Regions from separate parts of the Homo sapiens genome. Here region 1 is linked to region 2. The links are contacts of gene promoters, found by promoter capture Hi-C in human tissues and cell types (Jung and others, 2019). All regions are on one chromosome and are shown on one strand. Each heading gives the region's core, a stretch centred on a gene start or on the middle of the fragment in contact. The rest is flanking DNA. Distances are from core to core; before and after follow the strand shown. Region 1 holds the start of LOC105375053 (a long non-coding RNA gene). Region 2 holds the start of LRFN2 (leucine rich repeat and fibronectin type III domain containing 2).

The links. The method cuts DNA at HindIII sites, captures the fragments that hold promoters and counts their contacts. A contact is called where the count stands out against the background at its distance.
Region 1: a contact is called between a fragment that was not itself captured here and the fragment with the promoter of LRFN2 in region 2, in 1 of the 25 tissues and cell types used here (H1 embryonic stem cells).

Annotation. Positions count from the first base shown.
Region 1 is chr6:40,823,813-40,828,695 of GRCh38, reverse strand. It overlaps LOC105375053 (a long non-coding RNA gene), which reads left to right and starts at 3,353. Exons shown (of 3, transcript XR_926790.3): 1 at 3,353-3,613. The HindIII fragment of the contact is 3,126 bases long and covers 877-4,002 here.
Region 2 is chr6:40,585,843-40,590,609 of GRCh38, reverse strand. LRFN2 (leucine rich repeat and fibronectin type III domain containing 2) reads left to right here and starts at 3,246. Exons shown (of 3, transcript NM_020737.3): 1 at 3,246-3,669. RefSeq lists silencers at 2,814-2,883, 2,974-3,073. The HindIII fragment of the contact is 16,487 bases long and covers 1-4,767 here.

The sequences.
Region 1 (4,883 bases), core at 1,190-3,689, 240 kb before region 2:
ATTTTCAATGTATAGAATGTTTTGTTAGATTGGTATCCAAATATTTCTTTTAGTTTGCAGCAATTATGAATGGTATTGTGTTTTTAGTTTTTATGTCCACATGCTTGTTTATAAATAAACAGGTGATTGATGTTTGTGTGTTCACCTTGTACCTTGGTGAACTCCCTTATTCTAGGAATTTTTTTTTTTTTTAGATTTCTTGGATTGCCTATGTAGACAACCATGTCATCTACAAATAGGGATGGTTTTATTTATTCCATTCTAATGTACATGTCTTTTGTTTCTTTGTCAAGATTTAATTTTTAAGTTCTATAAGTGTGCTTGGGAACGTGTTGACTTTAAAGAATCGTTTGATGAAAGTCCTATTTTTAACTGGACATATTTGTATTCTATATTTTATAGGATTGAAATTGAGAAAGTGTACAGTTTTAAAGTGTTTAAATTCAATGAAACATTAAAAGGCATTAGACAATTTATTTAACCAATTTTGTCTCTGAAAAATATTTGTTAAAGAAAGGTACTCAAAAGAGATAAAAATAAAGTACGCTTGAAAATGGCTCAGTATTTATATATTTTAATTTCAAAAGTAAAATTTAGAATATCATACATTTAGCAGATATGCTCTGGCCTTACTATTATGACCACCAGAAGAGTTAATTGACCTATTCATTCCAAGTTTATTAATCATAATATGCAACTCTGGATTGCATAATATATTGAAATAAATGAATTATTCAGAAAAATACTCATGACAGATAATGGCTAGGCTGATTAACAGATGTGAATATATACCAAAGATAATTATTCTCCTTGCTATTTTTAAATGTTTAAATGTCAATATAAAGCTTTTATTCTGCTTTAATATAGATAGATTTTATTTTTTAGAAAAGATCTCATTTTTAAAAGCTTAAAGAAGTCCATCTTGGCCGGGTGCGGTGGCTCCCGCCTCTAATCCCAGCACTTTGGGAGCCCAAGGCAGGCGGATCACTAGGTCAAGAGATGGAGACCATCCTGGCTAACATGATGAAATCCCGTCTCTACTAAAAATACAAAAATTAGCTGGGCATGGTGGCACGTGCCTGTAGTCCCAGCTACTTGGGAGGCTGAGGCAGGAGAATGGCGTGAACCCGGGAGGTGGAGCTTGCAGTGAGCCGAGATCGCACCACTGCACTCCAGCCTGGGCGACAGAGTGAGACTCTGTCTCAAAAAAAAAAAAGTTCATCTTTTAGGTACATCAATATAATAAAAATCAATGTTGGTTAATATATTTTAACAATATTATAGAATTTTAACTGTTTAAACATCTCCTTTTCCTCTAAAATAGTGCCCTGGCTTGGACATGAAATTTCATGATCCTCCCCGGTATAACTTAACTTTGAAATCACAGGTATGTTTAGCATTGTGACATTCTGAAATGGAACTGTCGATAGAGGTATAAGAATAAGGAAGTATCTGGTTAGAGACCCCTAGAACACTAAGAGAGTGCAGATCCAGAATCATCATAATTAGGAGAAATTAGGGACACACACATGAGGGAGCAGGCCTGGGATAGTGCTCTTTCGGAACTAAACAAACCTCTGGACCTACATCAGAGAGAGGTATCCTATGGCAGTCCTGGGATTCTGCTTGTTATAGAATAGCATGCTTGTAGAGAATTGAAATACAAGATTGTAAATCCAGGGCAACTAAGAAACAAGTTTATTGAACTGGGTGAAGATGCTGGGAGTTCTAAAATTTGCTTGTGGGCTTTTCTCTTTAGTCACAGCAGTGGCCAGTGCTAACTGGGCATGTACAGTGTCCCAAATGTAACACCAACGATGCTGCACCCATTCCCAGGATGCCCCACAATTATCAGACAGTGCGTGCAAAGGCACGGGCCACAGCATCTACCAGGAGTGTCCTTGAAGGAGTTTATAGAATTCTTTGTTTCTGTGTTCAGCCAATGCAAAAGAAGGGAAGAGCTCACTAGTGCTGAAGGCACTAACTTAGAAGAAAGCAGAGACAGGGAAAGTGTGAAAAAGAAATCTATTCTGTTAAAATTTTAGTTGGCAGATTTGAGAGGTGTATTAGTTTTCTAAGGCTACAGAAACAAAGTACCATAAACTGGGTGGCTTAAAACAGCGTAAATTTACTTTTTCACAGTTCTGGAGGCCAAAAGTCCAAAATCAAAGTGTTGGCAATGATATGCTGTCTCTGAAGCCTCTAGGGGAGGAAGGGTCTTTTCTTGCCTCTTCCAGCTTTTGGTAGCCCCAGGTATTCCTCGGTTTGTGGCCAATCTCTGCCTCTATCTTCACACGGCTGTCTTCCCTCTGTCTCTCTCTCTCTCTTCCTTTCATAAGGACACCAGTCATATTGGATTAAAGGCCTGACCTACTCCAGTATGATCTCATCTTAACATTCATCTTAATGATATCTGTACACTCTATTTTCAAATAAAGTCACATTTACAAGTACCAGGGGTCAGGTTCCATACATCTTTTTGGAGATACAATCCAGCCTGTAACAGGAGGTTTAACAATTCCTATCAAGAATCTTGAAGAGGCTGGGCACAGTGGCTCACACCTGTAATCCCAGCACTTTGGGAGGCCAAGGTGGGTGGATCACCCGAGGTCGGGAGTTCGAGACCAGCCTGGCCAACATGGTGAAACCCCATCTCTACTAAAAATACAAAAATAAGCTGGGTGTCATGGTGCCTGCCTGTAATCCCAGCTACTCAGGTGGCTGAGGCAGGAGAATCGCTTGAAGCTGGGAGGTGGAGATAGCAGTGAGCTGAGATCCTGCCACTGCACTCTGGCCTAGGTGTGACAGAGTGAGACTGTCTCAAAAAAAAAAAAAACAAAAAAACAAAAAAACAAAAAAATAGAATCTTGAAGAAACTCCCTTTTCAGTGAAAGAAAAATGTGTAACACTCAGATTGTGGGTACCTTCAGAAATCTTCAAGAAATGTTATGCAAACATAAGATAAAGAGAAATTTGAAATGTCAGAAAAAGTTCCATGAGTTTGTGCTGTCCAGCAACATTGCAATAAATGATATCTTCAAGGTTTTCCTGGGAGAACCTACCACAAGACAAATTTTCTCATTTCCAGAAGAGATATCTGAGTGATATGTGTAGTCTAATTGAATGGAATACAGATGACCAAAGCTCAGTTAAGATAAAGTGACACTGTGTAGTCACATGTGCCATTTGAAATACTTAATACTATTACTGACCCCAAAGAAAATATAAATGCAAGCCAAGTCACATCTCTGCAGAATCACAAGCATACCGGCCAAGATCTCTTTTCTTTTAGAACATTTCCCCAGGAAACATAAAGTAGTTCATATAAATATGCTGACATCTTTCAACAGCTGGAAGGACTCATTCTGGGTGTTAACACAGCAGGGAACTGGAAGAATCAGAACTGGAAGAAGAAGAAGTGATTGGCATGCTGACACGCTGCTGTAAGAATTGCAGTGGGGAACAATTACATTGCTCAAAGAACACTTCACAATTGGAGGGAAGAGAATTATGTCAGTGCTGAAGGATTTCACAGCTGTACTCCAAAACAAACCTGGAAATGTACATTATAGGTACTGGAAGCAAAAGAGTCTATTATTTTGTCTTCTTTTAGGTAAGTGGTAAAGTGCTGGGAGGTGGCAGAAATGATAATTCTAAAGGGGCAATTCAGCCTCCTTGTCAGACTTGGGTCTTGCTGGTTGTCATTTCCATATGTGTCACTACTTCTTTGGAAAAGCAGGGCTAGGCTTCGTATAGAATATAAGCATGAACCCAGTCTGAAAATTTCTTTTTCATTCTACCCAGAAATGATTCTCTTACTATATTGATTTAGGGCTCAGAAAGTTCCTAACATCAATTTGTAGAGATACTTTTGGTATATAACTGAAGGAACAGTTAAAAAAAATCTGATTTAGAAACACTGGATGGGCAAAACAAATTTAAGACTTTGATTTAAGAAAGCCCCTAGGGTTATTCCAAATTTAAGTAAGGGTGATACACAGAACACAGTAACCTAGTTTACTGCTTTACCTTCCTCCCTGCATGTAGACGGGATTATAAGGTGCATGTGCATCTTGTTTGGGTTATTAAGCCTTTGCTCCTTACCTCCTGACCTCTTCCTATATATCCTGCTGTGTCACACTGCGTTGGGACCTTACCAGGTCCAGCCCTCCTTTGCCAGATCCTTCTCAAATTCTGTCACTAGGGGGCACTAGAGGGAGACTGGAAGGAGGCTCATGCCGTCAGGACGGGCTTATTCTTTTTTTTTTTTTTTTTTTTTTTTTTTTGTACTTTAAGTTCTAGGGCACATGTGCACAACGTGCAGGTTTGATACATAGGTATACATGGGCCATGTTGGTTTGCTGCACCCATCAGCTCATCATTTACGTTAGGTATTTCTCCTAATGCTATCTCTCCCCCAGCTCCTCACCCCACAACAGGCTCCGGTATGTGATGTTCCCCTCCCTGTGTCCAAGTGTTCTCATTGTTCAATTCCCACCTATGAGTGAGAATATGCGGTGTTTGGCTTTCTGTCCTTGTAATAGTTTGCTGAGAATGATGGTTTCCAGCTTCATCCATGTCCCTGCAAAGGACATGAACTCATCCTTTTTTGTGGCTGCATAGTATTCCACGGTGTGTATGTGCCACATTTTCTTTATCCAGTCTATCATTGATGGACGTTTGGGTTGGTTCCAAGTCTTTGCTATTGTGAATAGTGCCGCAATAAACATACGTGTGCATGTGTCTTTATAGTAGCATGATTTATAGTCCTTTGGGTATATACCCAGTAATGGGATTGCTGGGTCAAAAGGTAATTCTAGTTCTAGATCCTTGAGGAATTGCCACACTGTCTTCCACAATGGTTGAGCTAGTTTACACTCCCA
Region 2 (4,767 bases), core at 1,997-4,496:
CTCCTGGGAACTCTTCTGATCAGACACTGTGATTCCATTTAGCCAGTGAGGGTTGGGAGCCAACCATGTGCCCAGAAGTGTGCCAAGGGGTCTGGGGTTTATAGTCCAGTGAACAAACCAAGAGATACAGACAACAGGGTAAGGCTGGTTAGGGGTGTCAAGGAGAGCAGGCATGGCCTGCAGGGGAAGGCGAGTCCTGATTGGGAGTGGCAGGGAGCCCAAACTTTCTTCTTACTGGGGGTATTGAAGTTATATTCAAGGATGGAGTGCTGCCTTGATGTGCAGCCTAAAGCACAAGGCACAGTCATTCTCTACCACATCGAGACATGAAAGGGTGTGTGAAAATATCCCTAAGCACCTGCTGGGAGCTCTCTGGGAAATCATTTATCTGCCCTGCACTTCAGTGCCTTGGCTCTAAAACTGAAACAAAAAAAAGTATGTACAAAGAACCTTAAAAATGTTCATACCCTCCAGCCCAGTGATTCTACTTCAGGGAGTCTAGCTTAAGCACAAAAACAAGAATGTGGGGAAAGACTTAGGTACAAAGATGTTCATCACAGGGTTATTTAGCAGAATGAACACGAAGAAGAATCAAAATGCCCATTATTAAAATGGCTTTCACTCCCCAACCCCTTCTGGAATGATGGGATCACCTCTTTGGGAAGCCCTGGCTCAACTCTGAGGTAAGTAACCAGTACAGGAAGCCAGGTGCCACGTTAGTGACCCTAACTCAGTCCTTGTGGGCTTGTTCGAGGAGCCAAGAAATCCACCATCTTTCACCTTTTCATGATCCAAGTGTGGATTATCTTCTGGGGATTTTCATGGTAAACGGTGACTGTAGATTGGTGTTCTCTTGGCCTCTCAAGATGTATGTGGTCCCCATCCTGCTCCATCTGTCAAGGTTGCTTGGGGGTTCCCAGAGCTGGAAAGGCTCTTAGCAAATGCACAGTCCAAACCCTTTGAGGAAAAGGGACTTGTCACATTGCTTGTTAATACAAAGCCATGGTGAGCATCCAGGCCACCTGTGCCCCAGCACAGTACTCAGGTTATGTTGGGGCAAATGTAATTAGAAAAATAAACCAGTAATTCTCAGAATTACCAATGACCCAGGTCTTGGCTCTTCATGGAATATCCATGTTTCTGACTTGAGAAAACTTCTTGATGGAGTATTGGGTTCACTCTAGAGCAGAGATTGATCCATCCTTCCTATATCCCTCATTCACATCATTCTAATGCTTTTCTGGTTTCTAAAAGCAGCTCCATTTCTACTCTGGTGCCAGCTTGGTCCTATCCCTGCCACTCCGTTCTGGTTGTCTCATGGGTGACTGAGGGTTAGGGGAGATAACCTAGCCCACTGCCCCCAACCCTTGGGAGAATTCAAAGGCTTGAGCCCAGGCTGTGGTTCTTCCTAAGCCTTTCTTCCTGGGAGCTCCCGCCAATAGTAGGCAAGCCCTCAGGTAAGCAAAGAGTAAGGCAGTTTCCCTGCTGTTCTCCCCTCCTTCTTCCCTTCCCCTTCCTCTTCCCTACTTGCCCTCCCCAGTTTCTACTCCACACCTCCTTTTACTCACCTCTTCCTTCCTCATTACTTTCCTTCTCATGACTCTTCCCTACCTCTATCCCTCACTCCCTGCTCCTGAGTTAGATCCCTTCTCTCCAAGGCCCACCCCATATACCTTGAGTTTCATCTTGGCCATGCCCCTCCCCCACCAGGCTTTCCAGAATTCCTGCAGGGAGAGGCTTGTCTTCAAGGATATGCAGCATGCCAGTTTGGCAGTTTCCCGGGGTGCACATGTGGAGGGTGCACACATGAGGACCAGCTGCCTCGGCTTCTGCAGTTATGCATGTGTGTAGAGAGGACACAGGGTCGTATGTTACAGATGTATCCAGCCGAGCCAATCCTGGGCTGCAGAGACACATCCACATGCAACATGTGCCTCCCTGTGGGTAACCGGGACAGGTGCACGGGATGTGTTAGCCACCAGGAGAGAAGAGAAGGACTGCAACATTGACATTCTTCCTGCCCCTGGATTTACCAGCTGGAGTACCAACAGGAATCTCAAAATTTCATTTCCTTTAGAAGGAAGGAAATGCCTCTTGGGGAGTCCAGTAAGGCAGAGGACGGTCCTACCTTTCTGGTAACTAGTTGTTTATAGTGAACCGAGAGGATAACCAAAGACGAGACCTTGGCCAGACCTGGGTGTTCTGACTGTGAGCTCACAGTCTGCTTTGAGTAGGGTCTCCGCTACCTACCACATGCCTTGGACAAGTCACTTTACTCTTTTGGGCCTCAGTTTCCTTATACATCAAATGAGGGTTGCTGAGAAGATCAAACAAGTGAAGAGTTGTAAAGATGCTGTGCAAACACTTGGCGCCACTGCACCCTTCACTGATTCTTGTAATAATCATGAAAAGTCAAAGTGCGTGTGTGTGCGTGCACGGGGCGCTCGTTATTCATAGGTCCCTTACCAGGATTCGAGAATCTGAACTGGGCCCCAGGACTGGGTGGGCGCGATCGCCCCAGCCCCCACTCCCAGCCTAGGGCCGGCGCGGTCGGGTTTTCCTCCAGCAGGCGGCGGGCTGACGGCTGCAGGGCGCGCTAGGCACGTGAGGTGGCAGCGCCGTCGCCAGCTGCAGAGGTGCAGCCCTGGCCGCCCGGCTCGCCTTCCGCAGGGGCTGCCCGTGCCGCTGGACCGCGGAGACCGCCCTCCCGGTTCCGGGGCTCGCGGCCTGCCCACCTCCCTCCGCGACTGCGGCCCCAGCCCACTCCCGCCCCACCGTGCGTCCCCGCGCCACCCCTGCCAGGACCGTGAATCCCTCTGGTTTCCGCGGCGGTGTTGGTCGTCTCGGAAGCGGGTGCGCTCGGCAGCGGGCAGGGCAGCGGGCGCAGAGGCTGCCTTCGGCTCCTGCAGCTCCGCGGTTCGCCACTGGGGGCTGCCGCGCCGGAGAGCTCGGCGGGGACGGTGCGCACGGCCGCCGGGTTCCTGGGCGCCTCTGGCCGCTGGGTTTTCTCCACTGCTGGCCCTGCGCTGTCTCCGCAGCCCGCCCGACTCCCTCCCAGATTGGAGCGTGTGATCCGTGTGTGTGTGTGTGTGCGTGTGTGTGTGTGTGTGTGTGTGGAGCGGAGAGAGAAACCGGGTACGCGCGTATGCGCGCGCGCGTGGGGGGCAGTGTGCATGCGGGGAGTACGGGGGAGTGTGTTTGTGTGTGCGTGTGGGTGTGAGTGCCTGGCTCCCTCTCGCTGAGACACACATACACTCACACATACACAACCCGGCAGGCTCGTCTGAACTTGAAGACACCCCACATTCCAAGATGCCCGAGGTTCCTGGGAATGCCTGGGGTTCTTCGATCCGGAAAATCCTACCGGCATCCTCCTAGGGAGGGATTATTATTATTATTTTTCTTTAATCTGGAAGAGAAGAGAACAAGTTGTGCTTTTCCCCCCTTCTTCTTGCTAAATGCCATGGATATAACTGAATAAGCGGCTCAGGGCTTTCCCCGCGTGGACGTCCGAGGCCACCATCTGCCTGCATTCGCCGGAGCCGCCGGAGGGTTTAGCTCGAGTCTGTCTCGGGCGGGGAAGGATGCGTGGCCGAGCCGGGGAGCCCGGGCGCCCCGCGGAGCCGGCCTCGGTGCCACCCAGCCGGGGGTAGATGCTGCCTCGCCCAGGTGAGTGGTCGCCGGCGCTGCGTCTTTGCGATCCCGGGTGTCCGCGGGAGCTCGGCGCGGGGCTGAACGCACCCGAGGGAACCGGGAACTTTGCATCCCTTTCTTTTTCTCTTGAAGACTCCCCGCATCCTAGGTGCTCATGCGGACACCCCCTTCTCTTTTCGCCCATCCTTATCGCGAGAGATTTCCTTTCCTTTCTTTAGTCTTTATTTCCTACAGTGGGGGTGAAACTCTGGCGGGGAGCGGGGAGAGCCGGGTCCATGTGAGACTGGAGAGCCGGATGGAGAGACGGGGAGCCACGGGTGGATGGAACCGTTGAAAACAGCAGGAGAACTTTGCCGCCAGACCACTCTGTTGCATCTCCGCACATGCAAGGCCTGGCTAGAGCCATTGCTGGGGGCTAGGTGGGGGCGCCGGGGACTCCCTGAGCTCTGTGGACTGGGTGGGGTGGGGTAAAGCCAAGTGCGGAAGGGTTGATGCAGAGCGGATGGGAGGAAGGAAGGCATGGTTGCAGTTTGTGGGGGCAGGTAGGGCAGGTTCAGGGACCCTATGCTGGCCTCAGGCAGAAAGCAGATCAGGGGGATTGTGTGTGTGTGCAGCTTGGGGCATCAGAATGGCATGATGAAGCAATATGGAAAGTGGCATTAGCCATGCCTGGGTTCCTAGGTCTCTGTCTCCCACCCAGCCCTGCCCTGGTTCTAAGGTTGGCCTGGGCAGGGAGGAGGGAGAGCAGTAGACCGTTCCGAGGTGGACAGTGCCTTACTTTGCACAGACCTTCTGAGGGAGGTGTCCTACTCGTCTTCCCATCAGCCCGGTACAAAGGACAGAGACAGAGAGTTCTAGGGAGATAGAGCCTCTGAAAACCAGAGCAGGAGGGAGAAGAGAGCCTGAGTGGAGACCGCAGAGGGACTGAGCCAGACTGTTGCCAAATGCACCCGGCGACAGCAGACAGCTGCAGACGGACAGACACCTGCAGGGACAGGGAACATGTCAGAGCCTGCACTCTTGAGTTGGAGTTACAGGCATGGCTATAGATGATGACCCCCTCCCCTGGCCACAATGGAGTGTGTGTGTGTGTGTGTGTGTGTACGCGTGTGT